Linked DNA regions of Homo sapiens: all the other regions are linked to region 4. Evidence: promoter capture Hi-C in human tissues and cell types (Jung and others, 2019). All regions are on one chromosome and are shown on one strand. Each heading gives the region's core, a stretch centred on a gene start or on the middle of the fragment in contact. The rest is flanking DNA. Distances are from core to core; before and after follow the strand shown.

Region 1 (3,084 bases), core at 585-3,084, 260 kb after region 4:
CATGCTCTAAATCAACCCAGGGACAGGTACTGCACAACTAGGGACAGTCCCAATAGCCCAGGTGTCCTGGAATTACTAAAACTAGCCAAACTATCCTGACAGCCAGCCCTGCCTTGTTTCCCTTGGAAACCCCAACAGCATCTGTGGACTAAACTAAACTCACTCCAATTTTCCTCCTGATCAAATCTGGTGTTTCACCGTGTGGCCCTGTGTTATGTGGTATGTAACCTCCTTAGGGAAACGTAAGGAATAAATATCTTCTTTCAGTGTCATTGGCCTGTCCCTGGCATCACTCACTCACATCCATAAATTAAAACTCCATGGGGGCCAGGCACAGTGGCTCATGCCTATAATCCCAGCACTTTGGGAGGCTGAGGCGGGCAGATCACCTGAGGTCAGGAGTTCAAGACCAGCCTGGCCAACACAGTGAAATCCCATCTCTACTAAAAATACAAAAATTAGGTGGGCATGGCGGCACATGCCTGTAGTCCTAGCTACTTGGGAGATTGAGGCAGAACTGCTTGAATCCAGGAGGTGCAGGTTGCAGTGAGCCAAGATCATGCCACTGCACTCCAGCCTGGGTGACAACACAGCAAGACTCCATCTAAAAAAAAAAAAACAAAAAACCCCAATGGGTACAATCACTGCTACTTTTCTCTCTCCAGGAACTCATCCCTCTCCCCTACACCTCCTTTCCTTCCTCAATCTCTACACCCTCCCAATGTGGAAGAGAAACCACATCCAGGTGGCATGAGTGACTTTTCTCTCCATATTGACATTGGCCACCGTGTCCAGCACACAGAGGAAACAGATGGAAGATAAGGTAGAAAAGGAATGTGGGCCTCCCGTGGGGGGATCCATCCTCTCCTGCCAGCCAGTTTCCATGGAGTCACCCAGATCTTGCCTCCCAAGACAACCAAACTCAGACTCATCCTCCTCCCTTGAGCTACCAGGGCCAGGGCCTGAGGCCCTCCATTCACACTCCTCCTGCCTGCACATCACTCTTTGGACAGCACTCCAATCCCATCTCTCACACCTCCACTCCAGTCAATTCCACAGACACCTCCCAGCCCACACCACAGGCATTTCCTTCACCTCCTAACAGGCCACTCTGCACACAGAAACCAGGTGGTGCACGGCAAATACGCTCAGCATCCAATTCACTCCCAGTCCTGCCCCAGAACACCAAAGTTCCCTAGCACCGGGGGCAGCCCTAAGCCCTGGGTTGAAGGTTCCCTACATGGCCCTGTTTCTCACTTCACTGTCAGGTGCCCAAACCATGTGAGGACTTCACATACTCTCAGCTGTGTCCTGCCTCATGGACACAGGATTGTAAGTTTCCTGAGGCCTCCGAGTTATGCTTCCTGTTAAGCCTGAAGAACTATGGGCTGGGTGCGGTGGCTCACGCCTGTAATCCCAACACTTTGGGAGGCTGAGGAGGATGGATCACGAGGTCAGGAGATCAAGACCATCCTGGCCAACATGGTGAAAGCCCATCTCTACTAAAAATACAAAAATTAGCTGGGCGTAGTGGGGTGAGTCTGTCGTCCCAGCTATTCAGGAGGCTGAGGCAGAAGAATCGCTTGAACCTGGCAGGGAGAGATTGCAGTGAGCCGAGATTGTGCCACTGCACTCCAGCCTGGGCCACATCTCAAAAAAAAAAAAAAAAAAAAAAAAGAACTGTGAGTCAATTAAACTTCTTTTCTTCATAAAGTACCCAGTCTCAGGTAGTTCTTTGTAGCAATATGAAAACAGACTAATAGAATTCCCATCCTCATCTCATTCCAACTGATGCTTAGCAACTCTCCGACCTCACCCTATTACCCTCCTCAGCAACCCCATCATGTCCACTCTCCTTCAGAAGTCTTTCTCACTCCTATACCCCACCATCTCACATACACTCATCCCCACAAACACTCCATTCCCTCATTTGTCTAGTGACTCCTCCACCACTGCACAGCTACCCAGTAAGAGACCCAGTTCTCATGCCCCATTCCAATTCTCTGTCTTCGAACAGCACTGCCACCATAACCTAGAGATGCTGTCACCTAAACTGAATCCATGGCTTCATCCTGGTCCATACGACAGCCACCATAGTGTGGACGTCTCCAACCTGAACTCCTCCACCAGGAGTCTCTGAGACATCTGTGGCTTGAACAAACACTGACTCCTCACACTCACTCTGAAAATTCCTAATACTGCTGACTTCTCCCATCTTAGCTGATGGAGCATCTATGCTTCCAAACAAAAACCATGGGGCCACTCCTGATTCCCCTTCTATCCCACCCCCCCAGCTGCCTCACTCTCTACATCATAAAATGTGGGCAGCTCCAGTTCAAAACACATCCTGAAGCCACCGCTACTCTTGACAAGTCACCACCAACATCCACCTAGACTGCTGCAGGAACATCCTCTCAGATCTCCCTGCCATTACCCTCACCTCCACAGTCTGTCCTCCACTCAGACGCCAAAGAAAGTTCCTTAAGCTAGGGTCCTATCACTGCCCTCTTCTGCTTCAAATCTTCCCCATCTACCACCTCCCTTAGATTAGAGACCCAGGACCTAGGCTGTCATTCCAGGCCTGATGTTTGTGTGTCTCTAGCCACCTCCCACTCTGCTCCCTATTCCTATCCGATATAACAGACACTTGCAGTTCCCTAAAAATCCAGTTCAGTCTCTCCTCTAAACACTGAAACATTCTTAATCTTGTGCCCATGACACTCTGACAGATGTTACCACGTCAACTGTCAAAAATGGGAGCCACTCCACATAATCCAGGGCCATCCAGGTAAGGTGTCACAGTAAACTTAAAACAATCAAACAAAAATCCCAGACCTAATTTAAGATACTAGAACTGGTGGAATCACTCACTTTTCAGACATAAGAGAGGGAGAAAGACAGAAAGAGAGTCTCTGGACACCACTTTTCTTTACATGGAGGTGCCAAAACCATCTATGAGATAACTGGTAGGTGAAAGGTAGAAAACACTCCACTCACCTGTGCAGGGTTCATTTCTGCCATCGCCAGGGGACCCTGAAGGAAGAGGGAAACCGTGAGAAATGGGCAACGATGGGAAGATCTTAC
Region 2 (3,077 bases), core at 380-2,879, 340 kb before region 4:
CCAAATTATCTGATTTAGAGATTCCAAAGGATTTCATAAGTCATATGCAATATACCACAAGCATCCTGGTAACTTATAACCTTATTACTAAGATTATTATCTTGAAAAAATTTCTAGGCCGGGCACCGAGGCTCATGCCAGCATTTTGGGAGGGACAGGAGGATTGCTTGAGCTGAGGAGTTCAAGGCCAGCCTTGCAACGTAGCAAGATCCCATCTCTGTTTAAACAGATAAGAGTTTTTTTAATGTCTTAAAGGGCCTCCTGGCAGGGCACAGTGGCTCACTCCTGTCACCCCAGCACTTTGGGAGGCCAAGGTGGGTGAATCATGAGATCAGGAGTTCGAGACTGGCCTGGCCGCCAACATGGTGAAAGCCCATCTCTACTAAAAATACAAAAATTAGCTGGGTGTGGTGGCAGATGCCTGTAATCCCAGCGGTTCCAGAGGCTGAGGCAGGAGAATCGTTTGAACCCAGGAGGTGGAGGTTGCAGTGAGCCAAGATTGTGCCACTGCACTCCAGTGTGGGTGACAGGGCAAGACTCCATCTCAAAAAAAAAAAAAAAAAAAAAAAAGGGCCTCCTGTTGGTCAGGTCACATCACGAGTCAAAAGAAAGTCCCAGACTTCTGCTTCTTCCTGGAAGTATTCCCTTCCTCTCACCTATCATGCACAGCCTGGACAGTATTGATTTCAGTGGTCCCTAACATCCAGCACTCCCAGGTCCCCTCTGTCTCCCTCATACATGACATAGTTCATTGCCTTTTTTGAGCCCGTCTTCTATTCCTCCCATCTCTGAAGCCTAGGGCCCACTTTCAGTCATCAGGAGTCCCCCTTTACCTTCCTGCTGTGGGTCTCCCCTGTGCACATTGCCTCCCTTCTAAGGGTGACTGCTTTCCTTCCACTTTCTTTTCTTTCTTTCTTTGTGCAGTGGTACGATTTTGGCTCACTGCTACCTCTGCCTTCTGGGCTCAAGTGATCTTCCTGCCTCAGCCTCCCGAGTATCTGGGACTACAGGTACACGCCACCATGCCTGGCTAGTTTTTGTTTTTGTGTTTGTTGTTTTATTTTTTTGAGACAGAGTCTTGCTCTGTCGCCCAGGCTGGAGTGCAGTGGCATGATCTCAGCTCACTGCAACCTCCACCTCCTGGGTTCAAGTGATTCTCATGCCTCAGCCTCCCAAGTAGCTTGAACTACAGGTGTGCACCACCACGCCCAGCAAATTTTTGTATTTTTAGTAGAGATGGGCTTTCACTGTGTTGGCCAGGCTGGTCTTGAACTCCTGGCCTCAAGCGATCTGCCCACCTTGACCTCCTAAAGTGTTGGGATCATAGGCGTGAGCCACCGTGCCCATTCCTTTTTTCCTGAACATTTTCCAAGTGAGGTTGTTGGAAATCACGGATGGGGAACTATGCATGCGGAGGGCTGACTGTAATTGATTTCTTTCTGCCTCCTCACTAATCTGCACACTGCAGGCAGGGACCTGGTCTCATCATGCCTGCACCTCCAAGCACTGCCCTCTTACACTGTAGTCTCCCCATTGGTCAGCATGGTTCCATGAAGGAACTCCATTATCACAGCAAGGACTGACCTCACACTGGTGGCTCCAAGTCACTGCCCAAACATTCTGAAGGGAGTAGAACTTCTTGATTCCTCAGATAAATAGAGGACAGATGCTGGACTGTAGCTAAGTATTTCCTTTCATCTACGGGATAAAATACTGATAATTTGAGAGTGATGGACAAGGTTCAGAGTGGTTTCCTCATTTTGTTTTTGTTTTTAATGGAATGCCAACTTCATTTATGCTTGCCGTATGCAGATGGACTCCATCCCACTGGAAACATAACAGGCTTACCAGGTAGCTTCAACCACTGGTTTTATGTGACTCAGGGAGAATTGAAAAGCTGTTTCAGGGGAGATAAAAAGAAGGTAATTACATTTCACCGCAAAAAGTTTTCTTTTCAAGGCAGTAAACGGTCACAACCACCCAGAAACATCACCAAAGAGCCCAAAGTGTTCTTTCATAAAACCCAGTTGCCTGGGATTCAAGGGGCTGCCTCGAGATCCACGGGTGAGTCATTGAATTCCTCATTCAGTGGAGTGAGAATCGTAGCCTGGAGTCCTCTTATCTGCCATGTGAATGTGTACTGTGTGCTTGCTGGTAGAAAGGTCCATAAAATAGAGTATAATTAGATAAACATTTGCTTGGAAATTAGATCTTATGCTCTTCACTCTCTGTTAACTGCTTTCTCTTTAGGGATTGCCACTTTCTTCTCTTTTTCATTTCACTTTAATAAGCGCACACAAAAACCTTGATCCCATCCAGATTACACAGGTATGCCTGTCTGACTTGAATTTGGTGCACATTTGGCAGTAGAGCATGCAAGTCTAGACACAGAAGGTTTGTGAGTGTACAGAATTCTTTTTTTTCTTTTTTTTTTTTTTGAGACAGAGTCTTGCTCTGTCGCCCAGGCTGGAGTGCAGTGGCGCGATCTCGGCTCACTGCAAGCTCCACCTCCTGGGTTCACACCATTCTCCTGCCTCAGCCTCCCAAGTAGCTGGGACTACAGGCACCCGCCACCACGCCAAGCTAATTTTTTGTATTTTTAGTAGAGACAGGGTTTCACTGTGTTAGCCAGGATGGTCTTGATCTCCTGACCTCATGATCCGCCCGCCTCGGCCTCTCAAAGTGCTGGGATTACAGGCATGAGCCACCATGCCCAGCCGAGAATTCTTTATAAGCATTTTCTATGGTTCCCTTCTAATTTGAGTACTAGAGGATGTTTGTTTATCTTATAACAGCAAAACCAACCCCGACAATCTTTGAAGCTCAGCAACCCTTTGTGGAGATATATGATGCTTGTAAATAATCTCCATTCCATGCAAGGGAAATGCTGTCTGTGTGATACATTTGCATGTAATTTGTGTCCGAGGAAAGGACACTATTGTTGGTTCCCTGGCCTCTCTGCCTGGCTCTCTGATCCTTTTTTTTTTTTTTTTTTTTTTTTTTTTTTTTTTTTTTTTGAGACGGAGTCTCACTCTGTCACCCAGCTGGAGTGCAGTGGCGCAATCTCGGCTCACCAC
Region 3 (3,173 bases), core at 480-2,979, 430 kb before region 4:
GACTACAGGCGCCCGCCACCCCCCCGGCTAATTTTTTTTTGTATTTTTAGTAGAGACGGGGTTTCACCGTGTTCGCCAGGATGGTCTCGATCTCCTGACCTCGTGATCCGCCCACCTCGGCCTCCCAAAGTGCTGGGATTACAGGTGCGAGCCACCGCGCCCGGCCAAATCTGGGTTTGTTTTTTAATTTTTTAGAGACAGGGTTCCACTGTCATTCAGGCTGGAGTGCAGTGGCACATCATGGCTCACTGCAGCCTCCAACTCCTGGGCTCAAGCAATCCTCCCCCATAGCTGGGATTACAGCTACAAGCCATCGCACCAGTCCCCTTGTACGGGTTTTCTGACATTCCTACAGGAGGCTGGTTTCTTCTGGTGGCTTATGGGTGGGGTTAATGTCATCATAAAAAGGCGAGTTCCGCCCCCTTGGCCTCCATGACGTCTGAGGAAGCGGCACTCGATGCGCCATCTTGGAGCGCAGAGCATGCTAAGGCCTTCAACTTCAGACTGCAGAGCCGGGGCACCTACAATTTTCTGACATCACCCAGCCTCAGGTATGCAATGACGGCCGCACAAACATAAAGCCCACTCAGACAGGGACCCGTGCCCGCTGACCTCCAGCGCGGCGTGGGCGGTCCTTTCAGAGGCAGGCTGTGGTTGGGGAGCTTGGCGCGGACTTTAGGAGGCCGGGTGTGCAGGTAGAGGCCGGACACGAGTAGAGGCTAGATGTGCAAATAGAGGCCGGGCACGAGTAGAGGCCGGGCACCAGTAGAGGCCAGGTGCGCGAGTAGAGGCCAGTTGTGCGAGTAGAGGCCGGGCACGAGTAGGGGCCGGGCACGCAAGTAGGGGCCGGGCACAAGGAGGAGGCTGAGCGCGAGTAGGGACGGGGTGCAAAGAGGAGGCCGGGCGTGAGAAGGCCGCGCGCGAGGAGGCCGGGCACGAGGTGGAGGACACGCGCAAGGAGGCCGAGATTCTCACCGGGTCTGTGGAGACGCGCACCCCAGGGGTCATGCCCTGGCTTCTGGCAGGAACGGCTGGCCCTGCTCTGTGGGAAAGGGGAGGTGAGCAGCTGGGGCAGGCAGAGGCGGTGCTCAGGTCCCCAAGCCGGGGAACTGCGCCAGAGCCTGGGGAGCTCCGCGGAGAGCCGTCCAGGGCCCCGCGTACCCGTTTAAGCGCCTGCTGTGTGTGGGGCGGCCCTCCGCTCGGAGAAGGGCAGCCTAGGGTTTTCCCGCCTGTCTGAGGGAAGCTGAAGGCCTGGCGGGTGCGGACACATATCTGCTGCGCAGACTCTGAGCCTTAACGCTACAGTGACAAGGGCCGGGTGGTTGCGGTCCCCTGGCCCTGGGCACTATGCCTCAGTTTCTCTCTTCCATCAACAAAGGTGGCGGCCCAGTGCCCGGTGTGGGGCAGAGGTGGGGCCAGGGGCGGGGCGCGCGTTCCCTCAGGGGCCGTCGGAGCAGCTCCTGTCCAGCTGGGCGTTGGGCCCCGCCCTCCTCTCAGACTAGGGATGCCCCGCAAAGCCTGCCCCCGCCAGCCCCGAAACGGCCTTCCCCAGGCCCCGGGCAGCAAAACGGACTCCACACAGACGCGCGCTGCTGGAAACTCGCCCCGCCAGGGCCTCAGGAAGATCCCCGGACCCCCCGCACCCGGCCCGGCCCGGCCCGGCCTGGCCTCCCCTCCCCCTCCTCGCCGGCCTAGCTCACCCTCCTGACTGCGAGACAAAGGCCGCGGCACCGGCAGCCGACACTGCGCCGGCGCGAGCCTAACTCCATTTCCCAGAGAGCCGCGCGCGCATTTCCGGCCGCCCTCCCCCACCTCGCTCTCGCCCTTGGCGTTCGTGAGCTCTCAGTGCTGCTGGAGCTGGAGTGACTGGGCCTGGTGAAACAGGGCGCGCGGGGTGCCTGGGCATCAACGCGGGATAAGTGCCGCTTGGAACGCCGTGAGCTCCCGGCGCGACCACACGGGCTTTCGTGTTGGAAACTCTACCGTCAGTTTTACTGCTGCAAACAAAGCAATGATTTTTTCAAAACACATACTTTCAACCAAAACATTCACCAAGATCGCACACACGGGAGTCTTTGCATTTTCCACACTGAGGCAGCCATGGAGACTTCACACTGTATTTATTACATGGTTATAAGGAACATCACGTGCAAGACACTAACAATTATGACGACTTTGGACATTGCTAGGTAATTGTCAAAATTGTGCATTTGAACAGCAGCAAAATATTCAAAGCTGGTGTGCCCTCGCTGACACGAAATGAATTGTCATTTTCTGAACATTCACCAAAGCCTGCCAGGCGCTAGGCCTAGGTTCAGCAGCACACAATAGTGAAGCCCCCATTCAAGCGGGCTTCGTTTCACCAGCGTACGTCACACGTCCGTGGAGCAGCGAGACCAGAGGAGCTGGGAAAGCCAGGGCTGAGCCTTGTGCTTTTGCCCTTTTAAGGGAGGACAGATTAATTCCAATCAGCCTGGGCTTGGGAGCTGTATTTGAAGCAGAGGAAAAGTTTTAAGACGGGCATTTTTTTTTCTTTGACTGAAACAACTCTGAAAACAGCAGAGAACACAATACGAATTCTCGTACCACACACAGACACTTGCAAAGATTTGGCTGGTTAACACACAAGTTAAGACTTTAAATTTCATAAGCCCTAAAACAGTGGCAATTATGAAGAGATATAATGGCTCAAAATCATAATGCACTGATGTAAACAAAGCAAAGGCAAGCTTCTTGGCTTTTAAGGGCGTCCTGTACATTCCAAGTACTGTAAAGCCCCACATTTGTGACCGTCGCACTGAAAGCCAGCCTGCTTTTCACTCTACAGCAGTAAAGAGGCTTTCCATTATACATAAAATGCCGTTTTTCAGTTCTCGAACTCACAAACCCAAATGCCACAAAACATCTTTTTGTGTATTTTTTCTTTCACAAAATGTATACTCTTGCCCCCCACCCCCACCCCCAACCGTTTCCTTTTACTGGATCAAAAGGTATGAACACACAACTCATGGTGAAGTCTTTTTCCCAAGCGGTCTGATAGTCCTGGTGAGAAGCTGTCAGTGGTGCCACACTGAGCCTGCTCAGCCCTGATGGTGGCCAGGCGGCCCTGCCCAGCTCCCTCAAACTTGCCCCTCTGTTTCCTCCCTCAGACCTTCTGATCCTCTGTTTTTCTC
Region 4 (3,206 bases), core at 666-3,165:
CACAGTCTAGCACAAATAAATGTTAGGTACACGAAGGGAGGGAAAACTGGGTGCCATAGATCTAGAAAGTCACCAGACAGGGAGAAGGCAAGTCAGGTGGGATCTATTAGGCTTACTGTAAGACTACTGATCCCAAATCCTTACCCAAGATGCTTTTGGGCTGGGACGATAAGGGAAGTAGGCTTGCACTCAGTCCACAACATCTACCCAGGGAACTGGGGAAGGAGGCAGTGCCTATAGTCCAGATATGAGGACAGAGCTGCTCCTGAGGAAAAGGAGAAACAGAGAGCCTAGTCCAGGGCACAAGGGTGAGTATGAGGGCCTTACCCAGGGAGGACGTAAGTGCAAAGTTCTCCAGCATCACATCGAAGTACAGGTGTTTCTGAGCCTCATCAAGGAGATCCCATTCCTCCCAGGAGAAGTACACGGCCACATCTTCAAAGGTCACACTTCCCTAGCATAATAGGGATTGATGAAACCATGAACAGTCTCAATTTGGAAGACTCAAAATCCATGTCCCCATACATTCTCCTCCCAAGATCCCCAAGTCAGAAGAGACACCAGACCTTGGTGTCATTGATCCCTGCTGTCTCTTCACATTCCCATTAGTCACTGTGTTCATTCTGTTTTCCACTCTGTATCCTGTCAACACTTGGGTTAGATAAATCTCCCTCCTCTGATCCCAAACTCCAACTTCCTCACAATAGATGCCAAACTTCACAGAAATAAAGGAAACCTGCAGTTCCCTGAACCAGCTCAGCCTCACCTCCAAGGAGTTCCAAAAGCTGGTACCTACCTGTTTCTATCATAAATTTTCACCCATCTTTCCATTGGCTGCTCCAAATGGAAACATTGGCCTGGACTCAGGGCCCTTAGCTCAGGGATTCTCCAGGGTTCCCAAACCAAACGCTGAGAGAATGGTAGGTGAGTCCCATGACACCACAAATCTAAAGAAAATATCTGTCTGGGGAGGGTGGAGGGACATTCCAGACCAGTGAGGGGCTGAGATACCTCCACTTACCTGTGTAAGTTTGAAAAGCACCTCTGTAGCTATGGGAACCTGTGGAAAGACGCAGGCCTCAGAGGAATGTGATCATGGCAGTGCTCCATGGGCACAGGCCTTCCCTGTACCCTTGCCCCGGCCCAGAGCCACGTAACTTTGGGTCGACTGTCTAACCTGTGCGCCTCGGTCCTTAGTGCTGCCTCTCACCAGTTGTGTGGCCTTGGAAAAATATTCAACCTCCCTCTGCCTCAACGTCCTCATCCATCTCTAAAGTCTTTTCTTCCACTGAACAGCCTGCAGAGGATTTTTCAAATTTAACTCAGATGGTGTCTCTCGTTTGCGCAAGCTCTCTATGGCTCCCACGGCCCTAAGAATAAAGGTAGATCTCTCTCAAACTTTGTTCCCTGCAGTAACAATGTGGAGCCCAGGTTCCTGAATGCCCCCTTCTCGGTTGCCCGTCCAAGCCCTGCACGCGCCGGTCCTGTCCCTTGTCCCCCTGCCCACCACATCGGATGTCAGAAATAGGGGCCCCACCCACGAGCCTCAGTGTCCCCGACCCTGTGCTACAGAGACGTGAGCTGGTGCCTCTCACTTGGGACTTAAGAATCTCGGCCGGGGGAGGCCCGGAGATCGCAGCGCTCACCGAAGCCGGGTCCCTCAGTGCGGTCGCCATCCGAGTCTGTGGGCGGAGCTGGACCGGGAGCTGCGGGCGACCCGGGGGGAACCCGAGCATCGCTATCCCCAGGCCGGCCTCGCGGGCGGCTCTGCCCCCGACCCTCAGACCTGACTCTCGCGCCTTCACGGTCCGTCACTTCGATCCCGATGCAGCGTACCAAAGCGGCTGACAGACAGAACGGACCTCCGGGAGGGCAGCCAAAATGACCGCTGCGAAGACGCCACAAGTCCCGCCCTGGGGGGGGCGGGGGTAGACCCACACGGAAATGCCCCTGTCTTGGATTTTCATTGGATCAAAGTACTGCCGCTCGACGCAAGGCTTTCTGGGTAATGTAGTCTCCCCCAGGCTGCGACGGAGGGCGCCTTGTGTGCAGACAGCTGGGAGCGCTAGGAAGCTGCGTCTGCTGCCTTCCAGGGCGACTGAGGGGCTTCGGTGTTTGAGGTCTTAAGTAGGTTGACACTTGAACAACACAGGTTTGAGCTGTGCGGGTCCATTTACACGTAGGCGTTTTTTTTCCCCAATAAACGTTACTTCGAGTGTGCTCCTTTTCCTGCCTCTTCCAGCTCCCCGACCTCTTGCCCCAGAGACAGCAAGACCTCATTCTCTTGCCCAGCATGAAGAACACAAGGATGAAGACCTTTATGATGATCCACTTCCACTTAATGATTAGTAAATGTATTTTCCCTTCCGTATTCTTTTATTTTCCTTTTTTTAATTGGGTGTAATGTCAACGAGCCTCTTACAATTTTCCTGATACCCTTTCTCTGGTCTGTTTTAGTACAAGTATAGTTCTTATACTAAAATATATATAATGCATATATCATACAAAATGCATATATCATATATATTATGCATATATCATGCATATATCATACAAAATGTGTTAATCGACTGGGAGTTTATGTAATTCATAAGGCTTCCGGGCAACTTCATAAGGCTTCCGGGCAACAGTTGGCTATTAGTAGTTAAGACCTAGGGGAGTCAAAAGTAATACAAGCATTTTCAATTCCGCAGGGGTCGGTATCCCTGACCCCTGCGTCGTTTAAGGGTCAGCTGTATATCAGTCTCTAGTGTAGAGGTTCACTTCAGTATTTAGACATCATTTCAGATTCCATGCAGCCCACCCCAGCAGATCTCCACTGGTAGTGGGAAGCGAAAAAACGTTATCTTATTGCTCTTCAAATGCATGCAGCCTGAAGTGTTAAAGTCACTTTTTGTAGGTTTTGTCAGGGACAAAAGACACCAGACAGGGCTACAATGGGAAGATAGTGGAGGGATAGTGGGCAGCCCTGAAGCCAACGGACAAGGGAAGTTCCCTGCTTCTGGTGCCCCCAGAAAACGCTCTCCTGCCTGCAAAGTCAGTTTTGTTCATAAAACATGAAGCTTTAATACATGAATGTTCATTTTCCTTGTATAATCAAAACATTTAATTTTTTTTTGAGACAGGGTCTCACTCTGTTGTCCAGGCTGGAGTACAGTGGAACAATCATAGCTCATTGCAGCCTCCACTTCCTGGGCTCAAGTGAT
Region 5 (3,124 bases), core at 327-2,826, 440 kb after region 4:
CTAACATTAAGTCTATTTCAATTAGCCCTGAAAAACGTATCTGTGGGCCGGGCATGGTGGCTCATGCATGTAATCCCAGCACTTTGGGAGGTCGAGGTGGGCGGATCGCTTGAGGCCAGGAGTTGAAGACCAGCCTGGCAAATATGGTGAAACCCAGTCTCTACTAAAATACAAAAATCAGTCAGGTGTGGTAGTGCATGCCTGTAATCCCAACTACTCGGCAGGCTGGGGCAGGAGAATTGCTTGAACCTGGGAGGCAGAGACTGCAGTGAGCTGAGAGTGCACCACTGTACTCCAGCCTGGGCGACAGAGTGAGACCCTGTCTCAAAACAAAAAAAAGTATGTGAACACGGGCACAAAAAGCTCAGCATTCCTCACTGACCCCACAGAGCGGCACTGGAAGGGCTGCATCTACTTGGGGAACGACAGGCTCCAGACCAGCTTCCCATGCCCTCTGGGATCTCCCTGGGTCTCCCAGATCCCCCAAGGAAATTCCACAATGAACCAACCATCGGCCTCTTTCCTTACTGGGTTCCGACAGAACTTGTCTCTGACGCCAGGATACTTTGGGGCCACGGAACACGAGCGGCCAAGGATAATGCAGGCTGTAGCGATGAGAGTAAGGGCATCTGACTGGCCACAATGTCTGCAGTAGTTGCGGATGGCTAGAACATCCAGGAAAAGACCACACACTGTTGCCCTCCACGTCTCAGCGGCCGCAGGAAAACCATGGCAACCTTACACACCCTCCTGAGCCTCCTTAAACATACAACATACCTTGTCTCTGCTCGCGCATTTGTCGGCTTGCTACTGCCCTGCCCTCCCCTTCCCCCCTCAGGCCCCCAATTCATGCTGGAATGAGACCTGGTCCACCAGAGAATGCTTGCAGGCCAAGGATGATGGGAGTCCCCAGAGGAAGCATCATTCACTCAACAACCTACGGAGCTCCTTCCAGTAGGCCCAACACTCCTTACGGCCAGGTATAAATTAAGTGGCAAACCAGCTCCACACACCAAAGCGAACGACGACTGCGAAGACAAATCCAGGGGATACCTGGGCTCCCACCCACTTCGGAAACCGCCTCAGCGCTGGCAAGGAAGCGGCAACCGCGAAGCCACCGTCCACTCACCTGGGCCCGGTCCGTCAGCACCGCTGCCGCCATCACGTCACCCCCTGGGCCGCAGAGCTGGGACAGAGGAGCCCCGGGCGGCCTGACGGACCCCACCTGTGCCCGACCCTGGCCGGTTGCCCGGGGCTTCCAGGCGCGCTCGGGGCCGCCGCCTCCTCGGTGGCAACGGCGTTCCAGACGCAGGGCCGCCGCCTCCTCGGTGGCAACCGCGTTCCAGACCCAGGGCGCCGCCCCTGGAGACCGCGGGGCTGAAGGGCGGGGGAGGAGAGACCGCAGCTTGACGGCGACCCAGGAACAAACCCACGGAAGGGGTCAGGCTCGTACAAAGGTGCGGCGGGGATTCCTATCCTACTCCCCTGCTCGGTCCTGACTAGGGACCTGCAAAGCGGCCCCGACCGGGGCCCTCAGTGGCTACAGACCTCTCCAGACAGAAGTGCAGAAGAAAATGGCGTCCGCAGCGAGCAACCCGGAAGTCCCGCCCCCACCGGCGTGAGCCGTCGGAAACGTCCCCGTCCTAGGCCGTCGTTGGCCCAGCTCCCGCCGTACGCATAATGCACAGCCTTCTAAGTAGTGTAGTTTTCCTCATGTGTTCAACAACGGGAGGAACGCTTCACGGCGCAAGTTTTCCTCCCAGGGAAAGGCACTCCAGGACCCGAGGAGACGCTCCAGACCCACCTCTTTACGGTGGGCACAACTCGAGGGGAAGGATGGAGGGAGGGAACCGAGGGGCAAGGGTTACATTGCATTCTTCTCTCGGGAAAATCGGAGCTCGGGAGACAGGGACTTTCCTTCAGGTCAGGGCACAGGCAAAGGCGCAGAACTGGGTCCTCAGCTCGCCTGGCGACTGACCCCCTTTCACATCCCTCCTCCCCGGATCATCATCTTGGAAGACACAAAAAAGCCGAATGATCATCTGGAAGCCCTGCCCCGACACGTTGTGTGCGCAAACTGCCCTCTTTTGAGCCTTCTTTGGACCAGCACAGCCTCTACGTGATGCAGGGAGTCATGTATTTGGCCCAGACCACACAAAAAGTGGATTTGCCCACTTCTGAGGTGGGGAGGCTGCAAGTGGAGGAGGTTCGGAGGCTCAGGATGGTTAGTTTGAAATGTCTACAGAACCACAAAGTATCTCTGTCACAGGCAATTCGACTTACGACTGAATGTTGGAAGAAGGTTTGAGCATGAATATATGAATTTAGGAGTTACCTTACACTGTTATTTCAAGTCATGATATTGAGTGAGACCATCAAGGCAATGCATGTAGATGGAGAAGAAAATACACAGAGCATGAGCCGGGGACCAAGTCTACATCATTAAATGGTTGATGACAATATTACCAGAAAGGCCAGGTCCTTGCATCTAGATCCTGCTGCTTGCTGCACAGAAGGCCAGTCAGCAAGACAATGAGTATTGTCAGGGATGAAGGCTTTATTCGGTGCTGCAGCTGAGGAAAATGGGAGATCAATCTCAAATCTCTTTCCTCAACTGACTAAAACTAGGGGTTTATACATCAGGGAAGAAGTGTAACTATGTTTGAGAAAACAGGAATTAGGAAGGGGTAAGGAAGAGGAATGGGTCAACAGGCAGCAGATGGTCAGTTAGGCAATCATCATGGGTAAGGGGTATAGCATCTCGTTTTTCCAGATGTGGTAATCCAGTAAGTTTCAGTTTCTTTATACTATCTGGGAGGCCTGATGCTTGGTTTCCTGAGAAAGGAAATCAGATAAGACAAATAAAAGTGTCTCGAGTTTTAGGAAGGGGAGGCTCAATGTCTATAATGTGTTGATTCAAAAGAAACCATAAATATCAGTTCTATGGGACACTGGAGCTGGTTTCAGTTCCCTGTTTCTATTTATCAATTCCTCAATCATGGGGAATCTGGACGTGATCTTTCTGGCTGCTTTATGCTGAGGAGGGGTATTGTGGGTGGCTGCATACCATAGATGACCACGTGGCCACTCAGATTAACTCAAAGGTTAATCTAACGCTATAGTT

Evidence for each region. The method cuts DNA at HindIII sites, captures the fragments that hold promoters and counts their contacts. A contact is called where the count stands out against the background at its distance.
Region 1: a contact is called between a fragment that was not itself captured here and the fragment with the promoter of ZNF211 in region 4, in 2 of the 25 tissues and cell types used here (heart left ventricle and spleen).
Region 2: a contact is called between the fragment with the promoter of C19orf18 here and the fragment with the promoter of ZNF211 in region 4, in 2 of the 25 tissues and cell types used here (pancreas and psoas muscle).
Region 3: a contact is called between the fragment with the promoter of ZNF135 here and the fragment with the promoter of ZNF211 in region 4, in 2 of the 25 tissues and cell types used here (adrenal gland and small bowel).
Region 5: a contact is called between the fragment with the promoter of ZNF264 here and the fragment with the promoter of ZNF211 in region 4, in 1 of the 25 tissues and cell types used here (ovary).

Annotation. Positions count from the first base shown.
Region 1 is chr19:57,368,493-57,371,576 of GRCh38, reverse strand. It overlaps ZNF547 (zinc finger protein 547), which reads right to left. Exons shown (of 4, transcript NM_173631.4): 2 at 2,998-3,033. The coding sequence starts at 3,021. Among named protein-coding and RNA genes, the nearest start is that of ZNF547, 6.5 kb to the right of the region's middle. The HindIII fragment of the contact is 8,803 bases long and covers 1-3,084 here.
Region 2 is chr19:57,973,086-57,976,162 of GRCh38, reverse strand. C19orf18 (chromosome 19 open reading frame 18) reads left to right here and starts at 1,629. Exons shown (of 6, transcript NM_152474.5): 1 at 1,629-1,851; 2 at 1,960-2,064. The coding sequence starts at 1,731. The HindIII fragment of the contact is 10,862 bases long and covers 1-3,077 here.
Region 3 is chr19:58,057,838-58,061,010 of GRCh38, reverse strand. ZNF135 (zinc finger protein 135) reads right to left here and starts at 1,729. Exons shown (of 5, transcript NM_001289401.2): 1 at 1,701-1,729; 2 at 976-1,042. The coding sequence starts at 1,008. The HindIII fragment of the contact is 8,855 bases long and covers 1-3,173 here.
Region 4 is chr19:57,631,877-57,635,082 of GRCh38, reverse strand. It overlaps ZNF211 (zinc finger protein 211), which reads right to left and starts at 1,915. Exons shown (of 4, transcript NM_006385.5): 1 at 1,647-1,915; 2 at 1,022-1,060; 3 at 328-454. The coding sequence starts at 1,736. RefSeq lists a silencer at 1,596-1,665 and enhancers at 2,106-2,155, 2,226-2,315. The HindIII fragment of the contact is 12,794 bases long and covers 908-3,206 here.
Region 5 is chr19:57,189,952-57,193,075 of GRCh38, reverse strand. It overlaps ZNF264 (zinc finger protein 264), which reads right to left and starts at 1,576. Exons shown (of 4, transcript NM_003417.5): 1 at 1,130-1,576. The coding sequence starts at 1,162. RefSeq lists a silencer at 1,061-1,330 and enhancers at 1,501-1,560, 1,571-1,660, 1,681-1,740. The HindIII fragment of the contact is 13,408 bases long and covers 1-3,124 here.